2 separate regions of the Homo sapiens genome follow, and region 2 is linked to region 1. Evidence: promoter capture Hi-C in human tissues and cell types (Jung and others, 2019). All regions are on one chromosome and are shown on one strand. The core of a region is centred on a gene start or on the middle of the fragment in contact, and the rest is flanking DNA. Distances in the headings are between cores, read along the strand shown. Region 1 holds the start of GPR27 (G protein-coupled receptor 27). Region 2 overlaps GXYLT2 (glucoside xylosyltransferase 2).

The links. Contacts are between HindIII fragments. The study calls those that stand out against the background at their distance.
Region 2: a contact is called between a fragment that was not itself captured here and the fragment with the promoter of GPR27 in region 1, in 1 of the 25 tissues and cell types used here (dorsolateral prefrontal cortex).

What each region holds. Positions count from the first base shown.
Region 1 is chr3:71,750,846-71,758,316 of GRCh38, forward strand. GPR27 (G protein-coupled receptor 27) reads left to right here and starts at 3,010. Exons shown (of 1, transcript NM_018971.3): 1 at 3,010-5,651. The coding sequence starts at 3,205. The coding sequence ends at 4,332. It also overlaps a transcript of EIF4E3 not described here. The HindIII fragment of the contact is 10,298 bases long and covers 1-7,471 here.
Region 2 is chr3:72,920,234-72,927,704 of GRCh38, forward strand. GXYLT2 (glucoside xylosyltransferase 2) reads left to right here. Exons shown (of 7, transcript NM_001080393.2): 3 at 1,971-2,102. Among named protein-coding and RNA genes, the nearest start is that of GXYLT2, 36 kb to the left of the region's middle. The HindIII fragment of the contact is 4,085 bases long and covers 2,668-6,752 here.

The DNA of each region.
Region 1 (7,471 bases), core at 1,760-4,259:
CTCCGCCTCCCGGGTTCATGCCATTCTCCTGCCTCAGCCTCCTGAGTAGCTGGGACTACAGGCGCCTGCCACCATGCCCAGCTAATTTTTTGCATTTTAATAGAGACGGGGTTTCACCGTGTTAGCCAGGATAGTCTCGATCTCCTGACCTCATGATCCACCCGCCTCGGCCTCCCAAAGTGCTGGGATTACAGGTGTGAGCCACCGCATCCGGCCTCTACAAATAATTTTTTAAAAATTAGCGGGGCATGGTGGTATAAGCCTGTGGTCCCAGCTACTCAGGAGGCTGAGATAGGAGGACGGCCTGAGCCTGGGAGGTTGAGGCTGCAGTGAGCCATGATGATGCCACTGACTCCAGCCTAGGTGACAGAGTGAGACCCTGTTTCAAAATAAATAAAGTCAGACTTCCAGCTCTTACACTTACTTGAAAGTAAGTGTAAAGTAAGTGTAAGTGGTGAAAGCGTGAACAAATTAACCCTTCTGCCTCCTCTGCAAAATGAAGACAGTAACAGCACATACCACATCTGGCCATTACAATGATTACATTAAATAACACATGTCGAGAATTTAGCACAATGCTTGGCATACGGCAAGTGCTCAGTAAAAGGTGGCTGCCATTAGTATTACCATAAAGCAACCAGAGTTGGTGAATTTGTGTGGGTTATTAAGAAGGCATTCCCTCCTCTGGGCAGAGGCAGCCCAAGCGCTAAGGGCCACAGCAAGGCAGGATCGAATTCTCTACAGCCATGGGTCTAACTTTAAACAAAGAAATAAGAAACCATTTCCTACCCTCCCTTGCTCAAGTGCTCACTCTCAATTGATAGCCAATGATATGTTTAAGTGTTTGTTTATAATGTAGGGCTTCTAGAAAGCTCTTCCTACTTAGATGGCTGGAATATTGCTGCTCTTTTCCCTTTTCTTCTTTCTGCCTGGAATGAAGAAATGATGGCTGGGGCGTCGGCAGCCTACTGTGATCATGAGGGAAGGGCTAAAAGATTTTCAGAGATTCAGTCCTTGAGCCAATAAATCAATGTCAGCAACTACTGACCTCCAAACTTCTTCTTTCACGAGGAAAATAAACTCATGTACACGTTTTTTGCTACTAGTATCAAACTGCAATTCCTAACCCATACACCCTCCAAAATCTATTTTCTATCAACATACATTTACAGATGTGCCTGGTCAGCCACTTGCTGCTGGCCACTTAGGAGTCCCAAGTCAGGTGCTCAATAGTTGATTTTCTTGAAAAATCACTTAGATTTTTAAAAAAATATCCAAACTGTCCCCAAGGGCCTTACTATTCAAAGTAAGGTCAGCAGACCAACAGCATTAGTCTCACCCCGGAGCTTGTTAGAAATGCAGAACCTCCGGCCCCATTCCAGAACTACTAAATCAGAATCTTCATTTTAACAGGGTCCCCAGTGATTTCTGCACATAGTGAAGTTTGAGGCTCTGGACTAGGTTTACCGGCTCTGCTCTGTCATCCCTCCTCAACACTGCTGCCAGAATAATGTTCCTGGAGCACACCTAGTCATGTCGCTCCCCTTCTCAAAAGATTTCAAGGGCTCCTGACTGCCTGCAGACTAAAGTTTCGACTTCTTAGCCTGATCATTAAGGCCCTCTATGATCTTGCACTATCCTGAAAATGCCCATCAAGGTGCCTGCCTTGCATGTAATCAGTAGGCAACAAATAATTTTCTGCACAGAAGAAAAAACAAATGAGTGTGGGTGAGAAACAATGCGTTGCTTAATTCTGGCTTTACCATGCTAAGCACTGGGGATGCAGTGGTACCAAAAACCAGGCATGATCCCTTGCCTTCAAAGAGCTTAGAGCCTAGTTAGAAGAGCATGATTTTTAAAAAGAAATGAAAGTATATAATGACAAATTATAAGTGCTAAGAAGGAAATGACTAGAGGGCAGGGATACAGAGTAAAACAGACGGGTTAGAAGGAGGCCCTACGGAGAGGGAGCCTGTTGTGGGGCTGGTCCAGGCAGAGGTACCAGCACATGCAAGGTCCTGCGAGACAAATGCGGTGTGTCTGAGAATCATAACAGGGGCTGCCCTTTCAGGCTTACCCAGAAAATAGATATCCTGGGAGGAAGGTGGCATAGGGTTCACCTTCCAAGTCACTTAAAGATGAAATGCTGCATTTCTTTTCCCTGATATAGGTCCTTCACCGGGATCACGGATGAGTTAGCGAGCAGGGGATGCTGCGGAGTCGCTGTGAGTCCAGCACTGGAAATCAGACCAAGCGAAATTTGAATCCCAGCTCCGCTACTTCCCGGCTCTCAACTCCCTTGACCTCCAAGCCTCTGCTTCCTGAGGTATAAAGTGGGATTAAGGATGGCAACAACTTCGTGATTACTGTTGAGGGAGATAATGCTTGCCAAGCTCCCCAGCACACTGCCACCCACATCAGTGCGCACCTGAGTATCAGCGGTTTTAGGATTACGATGACTATTACTATCGTAAATTACTCCCAGCTTTCGGGCAGAAGGCTCATTCCAGATATTCCTGTCCCCTCTGAGGCCTCCCGACCCTGCCAGCCCAGGCAACCTCCCCCGCGCACGGCCACCGTGACCCCAGCGCGGGCGCCGCCGCCGGACCCCCGTTACCTGGGGCCAAACGCGACTTGTCGCCACCTTGCGTCCTGGGCCCTGCCTCCCTCCCGGCCGCCTCCCGACCCCGCGGCTGCTGCGGAGGCGCCCCCAGCCCAGCCGGGCCCAGGCGGTGCGGGATGCCTCGGCGGGGCTGGCGGCGGCGGCCGCGCTGCGCGCTCCGGCGGAGGGGAGGGGGCTCCGCGGCGGCGGCGGCGGCGGCGGCAGCGGCGGCAGCGGCGGCGGCGGGCCCGGCGGGGGGCAGAGCCAAGAGGCGCGGCGGCAGCAGCGGAGGAGTAGGAGGAGACGGAGGAGGATGCGGGGGGCTGCGGACGGTGGCGAGGCCCTGTCCGCAGTGAAGCCCGCGGCGCCTAGGGCGCAGGGAGTGGCCGCCTCCTCCTGCGCGCACCATTCCTGAGATGGCGGCGGCGGCACAGCGGCGGCTCGGGGAGCCCAGGAGGGGCCGGCCGGGAGCGGGCTGAGCCCCGCAGGACGGGGAGCTCGCCCAGGGCCGGCGGAGCGGCGGAGCTCGGGCCGGGCGGCCTGCGGGAGCGGCGAGGCAGGGGACGGCCCCGGGGCGGAGCGCACGGCCTGGTGAGGCCGCGATGGCGAACGCGAGCGAGCCGGGTGGCAGCGGCGGCGGCGAGGCGGCCGCCCTGGGCCTCAAGCTGGCCACGCTCAGCCTGCTGCTGTGCGTGAGCCTAGCGGGCAACGTGCTGTTCGCGCTGCTGATCGTGCGGGAGCGCAGCCTGCACCGCGCCCCGTACTACCTGCTGCTCGACCTGTGCCTGGCCGACGGGCTGCGCGCGCTCGCCTGCCTCCCGGCCGTCATGCTGGCGGCGCGGCGTGCGGCGGCCGCGGCGGGGGCGCCGCCGGGCGCGCTGGGCTGCAAGCTGCTCGCCTTCCTGGCCGCGCTCTTCTGCTTCCACGCCGCCTTCCTGCTGCTGGGCGTGGGCGTCACCCGCTACCTGGCCATCGCGCACCACCGCTTCTATGCAGAGCGCCTGGCCGGCTGGCCGTGCGCCGCCATGCTGGTGTGCGCCGCCTGGGCGCTGGCGCTGGCCGCGGCCTTCCCGCCAGTGCTGGACGGCGGTGGCGACGACGAGGACGCGCCGTGCGCCCTGGAGCAGCGGCCCGACGGCGCCCCCGGCGCGCTGGGCTTCCTGCTGCTGCTGGCCGTGGTGGTGGGCGCCACGCACCTCGTCTACCTCCGCCTGCTCTTCTTCATCCACGACCGCCGCAAGATGCGGCCCGCGCGCCTGGTGCCCGCCGTCAGCCACGACTGGACCTTCCACGGCCCGGGCGCCACCGGCCAGGCGGCCGCCAACTGGACGGCGGGCTTCGGCCGCGGGCCCACGCCGCCCGCGCTTGTGGGCATCCGGCCCGCAGGGCCGGGCCGCGGCGCGCGCCGCCTCCTCGTGCTGGAAGAATTCAAGACGGAGAAGAGGCTGTGCAAGATGTTCTACGCCGTCACGCTGCTCTTCCTGCTCCTCTGGGGGCCCTACGTCGTGGCCAGCTACCTGCGGGTCCTGGTGCGGCCCGGCGCCGTCCCCCAGGCCTACCTGACGGCCTCCGTGTGGCTGACCTTCGCGCAGGCCGGCATCAACCCCGTCGTGTGCTTCCTCTTCAACAGGGAGCTGAGGGACTGCTTCAGGGCCCAGTTCCCCTGCTGCCAGAGCCCCCGGACCACCCAGGCGACCCATCCCTGCGACCTGAAAGGCATTGGTTTATGAGGGAGGCCCCGCCACATAGACCCCCAACCCAGCCTTTCCCTTTGGCTCGGACGGTGACGTTGTATCTTTTCCTTCTGGCCCCTGTTTAATTTTCTAAGCTGCCTTCAAAATGACTCGAAGTGGACAGACACTTGGATTGTACTGACTCCTTTGGGGGTGGGGTGGGTGAGGAGTAGGATGCTCAGCCCACTCCAGCTCCGCACATTCGTCCTCCTAACTCGACTTTCTTCCTGACAATAGGCCCTGCAGTCTTTTTGTAGCGGTACTGACGTCTTTTATTCCATGTGTGGTTCCTTTTTTTCTTTTTCTATAAAGGCTGTACTAATTTTCTTCATGCAACGTTTCCTAAAGACCATGGCCAGTTTTCTACAGAAGCTATTTTTGACAACCTCAAGTGGCATTACATTTTGCAGTGAAGTAGAGGAACCTAGGGGGACTTCTTCACAAGTTAGATTTCTTGAGGATCTTCTGTTGGAAGCAGGAGAAAGTGGGGGGTGGGGGGAAGTTGTCCGAAATGCCCTCTGAATTGCCGGCTGCAGGGTCCTTGTGCTGCGCTGGTTCTTTGAAAGTCTCAGTGTTGATATTGAACTTAAAGAGCAGAGATGGAGATCAGTAGCAAGGCAGTCATTTTTTTAAAGCAGTAAGTAACAAGTAAGATTTGGTTCCCGGTTTACTTTCTGCTGCTAAAAACCACGTCAGTGACAACTGCTCTCTGTATTATAGCAATCTTGAATGGAAACATTTCTGTCAAGTTGTAAGTTTTAAAAGAGTAAAGTGTTTTGGTTAGTAATGATGTGGAGAAAAATACAGTATTGCATGTGTTCGTGTGTATAGATTGTGGTTCGAGGATTGGGAGGGCTCTGAGAAGCAGAGTACTACATCAAAATTGTTTTAAGTATTTTTTGCCAATAAAAAATTAATTTTATGGAAATGGCTTGTGCTTTGAGAAGCCCAGTTTTATTCTGTCTTATGAAACTAATTTCCACTTTGAAAATTGTTCTTCTGTTGTTTATGGTATAAATGAATGGAATATAATGATATCCTCCTTCTAGGAAACAAAGCATTTCCTTAAAATGTTTGCTAGGTTAAGCTGTGCTGTTCTACTGATGGTTGTTTTAAATTAATAATGAGAACTATAATTTAAATAATATTTCTTTGTTAGACATTATAATGTTAAACTGAAAGACTAAATTCTGCAAGTACTATATAATATTTTTGGCTTATAATGCTACATTTTTATTAATGTACCTTCCGTTTTGAGGATTTATATCTGTATTTCTCTTTGCATTATACAAATATACCAGTATTTTCATTCTGGAGTGGTTGTTTTGTTGTGGTGGTGGTGGTGTTTGAGGCTGTAATAATACATGCGTCGAAGTATGTTACATGCCTCTAAGTATGTTATGTAAGGATAACATGCTCTATGATCCTTTTAGCACGTGTTCTTCAGTTACAGGTTTCATAGTTTGACCATCAGCATATCCAAGAAAAGTGGAGGCTTAATTTAAAATGCAAGATAAAATCTGCGAAACTTTTCTTTAAAGGGAAGAAGCAGTAGACATATATACGGCTTTAAAACTGTTTTTTTATTTGGATGACAACATTTCAATGACTATTCGTTAAATGACATAAAAAAGCTTTTAAGTAAACATATCAAACTCAAGTACAAGCGATCATTTTGATAAAAGTACTAGGTAAAAGTGGGGGTGGTAGATTATATTGAAATTTAGCTGAGTATAATATAAACTATTAAATGTTCAGTCCAATGGGAATAAGTTATAAAAAGAGTGTGGCCAATTTAATTGATCTCTGGTAAATAGGCTGCATGATTTTATTTTGTTGTGGAAGTTAATCAGTCTGTGAAGACAGTCTCACACTTGGAAAATATGAGACAGTTACCCTATTTCTCCCCACATCATGAATCCAGGTTGGCCTCAATCATCCAAGGGCCACTGATCGGAAACCTCAGCCAACCCCAAGATAGAGGAGCCCAGAAGTACCTCTCTCCTCATCTAACCCTCCACCTGCCCAAGTGATCTCAGTTCCAAATAGAGGTCGAACCAGTCTACGATGGCTCATGCCTGTAACCCCAGAACTTTGGGAGGCCGAGGCAGGAGAATTGCTTGAGACCAGGAGTTTGAGGCCAGCCTAAGCAACATAGCGAGACCATGTCTCTACAAAAAATCAAAAAATTAGCTGGGTGTGGTAATGTGCACCTGTGGTCACAGCTACTGGGGAGGCTGAGGTGAGAGGATGGCTTAAGCCCATGAGGTCAAGGCTGCAGTGAGCCATGACTGTGCCATGGCACTGTAGCCTGGATGACAGAGCTCTCGAGACCCTGTCTCAAAAAAGCCCCCAAAACAGAGATCACCAAGTCTCTGTGATTTTCCCACCTGGCATGGCACAGGAACCAGCCCATCATGGCTGACTCCTGAGCCACTCCAGCTTTGGGCAGCAGCTCAGCTGCACCAGAGGTGACGTGTTGGCCTGACATAGCCTTGAATTCAAGGGATATTTTGTCATATGAGAATTCATAAGCCAGAGGTTCTCAAATTCTAACATTCATACAAATTAAGTGTCTGTGTGATCCAGAGTCTTATGAGGACATGTTGAGTTGGGTCCTGGGGAAAAGCATTTCAACAGGTTCCTCAGGTGGTTGGAGACAGACCTCCAGGACTTCGTTCAGACATGATTTACTTCAGACATGATGCGTTCAAACTTGGCTACCTGGGTTTTTTATTTTTATGTTTTAAAGTTCTGATTAGATGGGGGAAGGCAAGATTTCTAGTGAGTGTGCAGGTGAGAGTAGCAAGAAATAACAGCCAACTAAAGGAAACGAGAACCAAAAGAGCCAGAGAAACAAGCTATGTAGCAGAAAGTGGGGAGGTGCAAAGGGCCACCCCAACAGCTTTTAGGATTGGTGAATCTATTAACATGTACTTTGATAGTTAATTACATTAATCAAAAATTATAAAAAAAAAAAAAAGGTTAGTTGTGTCCACAGTACTCTACTTATTGTACCAGCACAGGCACCATGTATTTAGGGAAGATTTCATTAAAATTGCTCATTTTATTTATTTGGGAAGTTAATTTAGCACAACTTCCCCACCCTCCCACGCAGTTGTCACTATACTTGAAG
Region 2 (7,471 bases), core at 3,460-5,959, 1.2 Mb after region 1:
ATGTGATTCTCCTGCCTCAGCCTCCTGAGTAGCTGGGACTACAGGCGTGCCTCACCGCTCCTGGCTAATTTTTGAATTTTTAGTAGAGACCGGGTTTCACCATGTTGGCCAGGCTGGTCTTGAACTCCTGACCTCAAGTGATCCACCCGCCTTGGCCTCCCAAAGTCATGAGATTACAGGCGTCAGCCACCACTCCTGGCCTTGTTTTTAATTTTTTTAAGAGGCAGGTCTTGTTATACTGCGCTGGCTGGTCTCAAATTCCTGGGCTTAAGCAATCTTCCCACCTTGGCCTCCCAAAGTGTTAGGATTACAGGCGTGAGCCACCAACACCTGGCTGACTTTCTGTAAACATTAAACTGCTCTAAAATCTAAAAGTGTATTTTAAAAATTTTGTTATAAAATTAATATATGCAAAGAAAGTAATATATACTCATTGTAAAAATTCTAAAGAATATGGAAATGTAGCCCGAGGAAATGAAACCACCATCACCAGCTATAGAGTGCCCACTTTTAATAATTTGGTGCATATCCATCTAGGTTTTTCTTTACATATAAAATGTACATGCATATATATATATATATGTATTTTTTTTTTTTTTTAGTCAGAGTCTCACTCTGTCCGTCAGACTGGAGTGCAGTGGCATGATCTCAGCTCACTGCAACCTCCACCTCTGCCTCCCGGATTCAAGTGATTCTCCTGCCTCAGCCTCCTGAAGTAGCTGGGATTACAGGCGCCCACCACCACGCCAGCTAATTTTTGTATTTTTAGTAGAGACGGGGTTTCGCCATGTTGGCCAGGCTGGTCTCAAACTCCTGACCTCAAGTGATCCCCCTGCCTGGGCCTCCCAAAGTGCTGAGATTACAGGTGTGAGCCACCACGCCCGGCCTCATGCATATATTTTTTCCTATAAGACAGAACCATTCATTCAGACAGTAGTGAAGAAATAAAAAAAAAAAAATTTATAGTTTTTTTGCACTTTGCTTTTTCCAAAACCCAACTATATGTTATAACTGTTTTCCATGTCAGTACATATCTACATAACAGAACACAATGCAGTCATTAGTGACAATGATATAGAACTGAGGTCAGCAAACTATGGGAGTACAAGAGCCAAATCCAGCCTGCCACAAATAACACAAAAGACATCTACTTTATTCTAACTGTACATTATTCTATTTTTCTTTTTCAATTTAATTTAATTTAATTTAATTTTTTTGAGACACAGTCTCGCTCTGTCACCCAGGCTGGAGTACTGTGGCACGATCTCACTGCAACCTCCGCCTCCCTGGTTCAAAGCAATTCTCGTGTCTCAGCCTCCCGAGTAGCTGGGACTACAGGCATGTGCCACCATGCCCAGCTAATTTTTGTGTTTTTTAGTAGAGATGGGGTTTTGCTGTGTGGCCAGGCTGGTCTCAAACTTCTGGCCTGAAGAGATCCACCCACTTCAGCCTCCCAAAGTGCTGGGATTACAGGCATGAGCCACCATCCCTGGTCCCTCTAACGGTACATTATTTTATTATATAGTTCTGTCATACTTAATTGTCCCAATTCCTTATTATTGGACATTTTGATTGTTCCCAAGTTTGTTGGGTTTTTTTCCTCTTCCAAGCTGCAAAGTTCTCAAGTCTTGTTATTACAAACTAGGTTGTGGTGAATGTCCTTGTACCTCTGTCTTTTGGGGTGTTGTTACCAGTTTCCAAGTTAACCTTTTGGAAGTTTGTTCAAATCTATACTCCCCTCTGCAGTTTCTCAACACTGTTGCCAACGGTGAATGTTATTTTTTAAAATCTTAGCAATTTTAGTAGGAGCAAATACTCTTTCATTTAGTGAACATTCATAGTGGTGATGAAGTTAGACTTTCTGTGTAAGTTGCCTGAATAATTTCCATTTGACCATCCAGAAGCTTCGCAGGCATTTTCCATATTTCCTAGGGCCTAATCACCCTTCCCTTGCTTCCCATGTTTTTCAGTTACGCCAGTGGCCTGACTCATATACAAAGAAGTTTGAGCACAGAATCTACCCCATCACATTTTCTGTTGGAAACCCTCAGGAGTGGAAGAAATTGTTCAAACCCTGTGCTGCCCAGAGACTCTTTCTTCCGGTAGGAACACCTGTTTTTAATAAGTTGTAGCTTGCTCCTGGAAATAAGGTAAAATTAGCTGAGATGTGTGTAGAAACATTTAACTTAACAGCTGAAAACCTGTGTCTCTTGGATTCTGGAGCTGATGCTCTAAGTCTGCAGCATGTAGAGAGGATCCCTGTGTTCTGGAGGTTGTCATACCGAAAGACTGAGGGACTGTGAGCATTCAAATCCTGTCTTGGATCATTGGTCTTTGTGACTATGGTTCCATTATTTACTGGCTCCTGTGAACCTCGTTAAATCCCCCAACTTTACTAACTTCAGTTTTATCCATAGGCTTGGCACATAGCTGGCCCTCAATAAATATTAGCCTGGATTATTGTTATTTCTCTTATCACAATAACAACTACTAGTTATGGCCATACTAGGCTATCATTCCAAAAGGGTCCAGAATTTTGGTTTAGTCTTTTAGTTTAATGAATTTTTAAATTGCATGTTTTTGGTTGCTTTTTTAAAATCTTGAGGCCGGCATGGCGGCTCACACCTATAATCCCAGTACTTGGGGAGGCCAAGGCAGGCGGATCACTTGAGCACAGGAGTTTGAGACCAGCCTGGGCAACAGGGTGAAATCCCATCTCTACAAAAAATACAAAAATTAGGCGGGGTGTGTTGGCTTAGACCTATAATCCCAGCACTTTGGGAGGCTGAGGCGAGTGAGTCACCTGAGGTTAGGAGTTCAAGACCAGCCTGGCCAACATGGTGAAACCCTGTCTCTACTAAAAATACAAAAATTAGCCAGGCTTGGTGGTGTATGTCTGTAATCCCAGCTACTCAGGAGGCTGAGGCAAGAAAATCGCTTGAACCCAGGAGGCAGAGCTTGCAGTGAGCCAAGATCACGCCACTGCACTCCAGCCTGGGCAACAAGAGCTAAACTACATCTCAAAAAAAAAATTACCTGGGCATGGTGGCGCATGCCTGTAGTCCCAGCTACTTGGGAGGCTGAGGTGGGAGGATCATCTGAGCTCAAGAGGTTGAGGCTGCAGTGAGCCATGATCGCACCATCACACTCCAGCCTACCTGACAGACTGAGACCGTGTCTCAAAAAAGTAAATAAAGAAATAAAATTTTAAAAATCAAATAATAATAAAAATATTCAATAGAAAAAGATATTTCAAAAGTGAGAATAATATTGCACAGGGATAGCAACTTTGAATTGTCAGTTGCTGCCTTAATTTTTGTGAGGGATTCATGCCTTCAGTAGACATTTGTTGAGTGCCCACCAGGGTGCTGGGCCCTGGCTCAGTGATGATGACATGGTAATAAGACAGCCATGGTCCTGTTTCCTTGAAGCTTGAGTCTAGTAGGGCCTTGAACAAATAATTAGAAGTATGACCAGTACTAAGAGGAGATAATCTCATGGATGTATGTAACATGGGGTTCCATCCTGGTCTGAGAGAGATCATAGAAGGTTCTCCTGAGGCAGTGGCATATTTTTTTGTGGAGATGGGGTCTCGCTATATTGCTCAGGCTGATCTTGAACTCCTGTGCTTAAGTGATCCTCTCGCCTTGGCCTCCCAAAGTAGTAGGATTACAGGCATGAGCCACCATGCCTGTCCAGCAGTGGCATTTATGCAGACATGAATGAAGGAGAAGTAAGGGTTACTAGGTGACAAGGGCCTTGGGGGTAATGAGAGAAAAGAGGGGTCCAGGCAGATGGAACAGTATATACAAAGGCCCTAAGGTGGGAAGGGCCATGTTTAAGAAAATAAAAGAAGGTCATAGTAACCAAAAAATAGAAAGTGAGATGAGAATGAAGCAATCAGCAGAGACTGGAGCTTGCAGGCTCAGCAAGCCATCTAGAAGTGTCTGGTCTTTGTCTTTTTTTTTTTTTTTTTAAGAGATAAGGTCACTCTCTGTCGCCCCTGCTGGAGTGCAGTGGTGCAGTCATGGCTTACTGCAGCCTCCAACTCCTGGGCTTAAGTGATCCTCCCACCCGAGCCTCACAAGTAGCTGGGACTACAGGTGTGAGCCACCATGCTTAGCTAATTTTTTTATTTTTTGTAGAGATGATGTCTTGCTATGTTGCCAGCCTGGTCACATACTCCTCACATACTCCTGGGCTCAAGCGGTCCTCCCACCTTGACCTCCCACAGTGCTGGAATTGCAGATGAGAGCCACAGCACTCAGCCCAGTCTTTTTCTTAAGGGCAGTGGGAAGCCACTGGATGATTTTTTGCAGCAAGTGGCATGTTCTAACTTGTGTTTTAGAGAAGACACTCTGGTTTATGGCAGCGCAGACAGGGTTGGTGAAGCCAGGTCACTAACTTGGTTTGGGCTTTGATGGTTGCCTTAGAGATGGATAATGGACCTGCCTGAAACGGAATTTACCAACCTTCATGATTGGCTCGTTGTAAGAGTTGAAGGGGGAGTGACATGAAAAGGATTTTACCAGATTTTTTTTTTAACCTGAACAACTGTTAAGGTTGATCCATTTGAAATTGCCAGTATTCAACCATTAATGACCTACAAAAAGGTAATTTCTTATGGCTCAACGTAAGAAATAAATGGCAGAATCATTTAGGGATAGAAAAGACAGGGAAAAGCAGTTTTGGTAAAGGGGTCAAATGAGTTTAATTTGGGTCATACTTTGATTTTGAGGTGGCTGAGGATACTCAAGCAGAAGGAATCGTCACATCTATCGGTCTGGAAACACTAACTGGGGAGTAGCCCTTTTGGCATTTCCTACGCAGAGACCTGTGAGCAGAATAAACCCTGGATGAATTGTTGGCAGCGATCAGCTGCCCAAGCTCACTTGCTCATTATGTCATCTATTTTTCTTTTTCTTTCTTTTTTTTTTTTTTGAGACAGAGTCTCACTCTGTCGCCCAGGCTGGAGTGCAGTGGCACAATCTCAGCTCACTGCAACCTCCACCTCCTGGGTTCAAACAATTCTCCTGCCTCAATCCCCCAAGTAGCTGGGATTTTGGCGCATACCACCATGCCCCGCTAATTTTTGTATTTTTAGTAGAGACAGGGTTTCACCATGTTGGTCAGGCTGATCTTGAACTCCTGACTTCAGGTGATCCGCCCGCCTCGGCCTCCCAAAGTGCTGAGATTACAGGCATGAGCCACTGCGCCTGGCCACATCGTCTGTTCTTCACATGTCACAGACCTTTATATATAATCGCATAAAAACTGGGGTAGGAAAAGACTCCCTCCAATTGACACGAAAATCTCTAGGTTGGTGATATAAAAACTGATTACTCTTTGAGGTGAGAGAAAATGTTAGGTTTGTTGCTTGTCTCCATTTTTGCAAAAAATAAGTATTAGAAAACCAAAGGTAATGTTGGGAAATGGTCTTCCCATTCTATCCAAAATATTAGCTACCCAATGGAACTACATTTGAATTTTTGTTGACCTTGAATTGTGACTTTATTACCATTATTTAAAAAAAAACAAATTCATCACCTAATGGCCTTAATTCTTTCCCAGCTAAGTAGGTGCTTGGTTTTGAATGACAAATGGGTGCTGGCATTCCTTATCTGCTTCTGATAATGGAAACGAGCCCTCTTTAAAAATAATAAAGAGAGATTGTGGTTGACAGGACATTTACCTTTTCCTAGTTGTATATCACAACAGCAGATTATGAACATGGCATTTTTGGGCATCAGTGAGATGTATTGATCTTGAGGGTAATTTTAAAGTCTAGGTTGTGTTTTCCTTGGAATTCATCTCTTTAAAACCATATCAGGTGTGCTGCCTCAGGAGCACAGAGAAAATGGAGATCCTAAAGTGCAAACATTCTATCAGGTAGTCAGTTGACTGAGGACCATGGTCCCACCCATTTTCCAAGAGGCTGTCATCTACCCAAAACTGTGGAAGAGACCCTTTCTCAACTAAGATTTTACTATCTGAATAATATCAGAGCATAAGTCTTTGCAACTCAAGCCAATTAGATTCTCAGGTACAATTAGTGTGATTCAGATCCCACCAATTCAAAATTTATGAACTCCTACAAATCAGTGGACATTTACTCCTCTACTTCTGTGACTAATGGTCCTATGACATGGGATCATTATGAATGCAAACTAAACTGCAGATGGCTTGGTTAAGCGTTCTAAAATGCATATTTCAGGTAATTCAGAAGCTTAAAATATTTAAAACAATATGCCAATTACAAATAAATCAAATGTGTTCATTAAAATTGATTCTGGAATACTTTTATTTTCTTAGTACAGGCCAGAAATCCTTTACATCTGTAAGAGTAATTGAGTTGTATGAATTCACATCACCTTTCCCCCAATTAATTGGAAGTAGTGAGATTTTATAATAGATCTGTACATTTTGCTACACGCTGTGAGGAGAGAAATTATGAAGATTTCTCTCCTCAATAACTGTGGTCTTCTGGGAATCCTAGAGATAGGTAAAACATGACAGACATCACTGGATTGCAGAACCTTTAGAGACATTATTAGTGAGTGGTACCCAATATGGTAATTTGAGGTAGGGTAAGGTTGTATCCAGGGATAAATGTTTTTGGTTTTGTTTTTACCAAGTTTTAATAAGCTCCAAGGTTATGATAATGTCTGATGTCTTTTTTGCTCCCAACATTCACCATAGATAGCCATATTTAAGGAAGGAGTTAGAGAGGGTCTCACTGTGTTGCCCAGGCTAGAGTGCAGTGGTGCAATCATGGATCACTGCAGCGTCAACCTCCTGGGCTCAAGTGATCCTCCCACCTAAGCCTCCTGAGTAGCTGGGACCACAGGTACACACCACCATGCCCAGCTAATTTTTAAAATTTTTGTAGAGACAAGAGTCTCACCATGTTGCCCAGGCTGGTCTCAAACTCCTGGGCTCAAGTGATCCTCCTTCCTAGGCCTCCTAAAGTGCTGGGATTACAGGTGTGAGCCACCGCACCTGGCCAAATTAGTTATAGCTTTAACCTGTAAATGTATTCTGAAAGTTTTCTGACTCCATATTTCCAAGAAACTTGTCCCACTCCTTAATATTTCAAAGGACTACCATGCCAAATAAAGATAAATCTTTATTTTATGTAGTGAAAGCAACAATGTATAATCTTCTCTTTTCTACTTACGGCTTGTTAAAGAGACCGGTAACTGGTTCTAATGTTTTGAAATCTGCATGCTTACCAATGATGTCTTCATGAGTTAGCTGTAGGCTAATGGAAAAAGGAAGCTTATCATACTTTTTAGAACTTTTTATAATTAAGGTCAGACCTCTATATTATTATTAATATTACACCTCAGTATTTGCAATTAACATTGAGACATCCTTGCAACAAACCCTTTGGATATTAACAAATATTGACACACATATAGGAATATATTAAAAATCCTTATTAAGGGGAACACCAATTAGAATCACCATA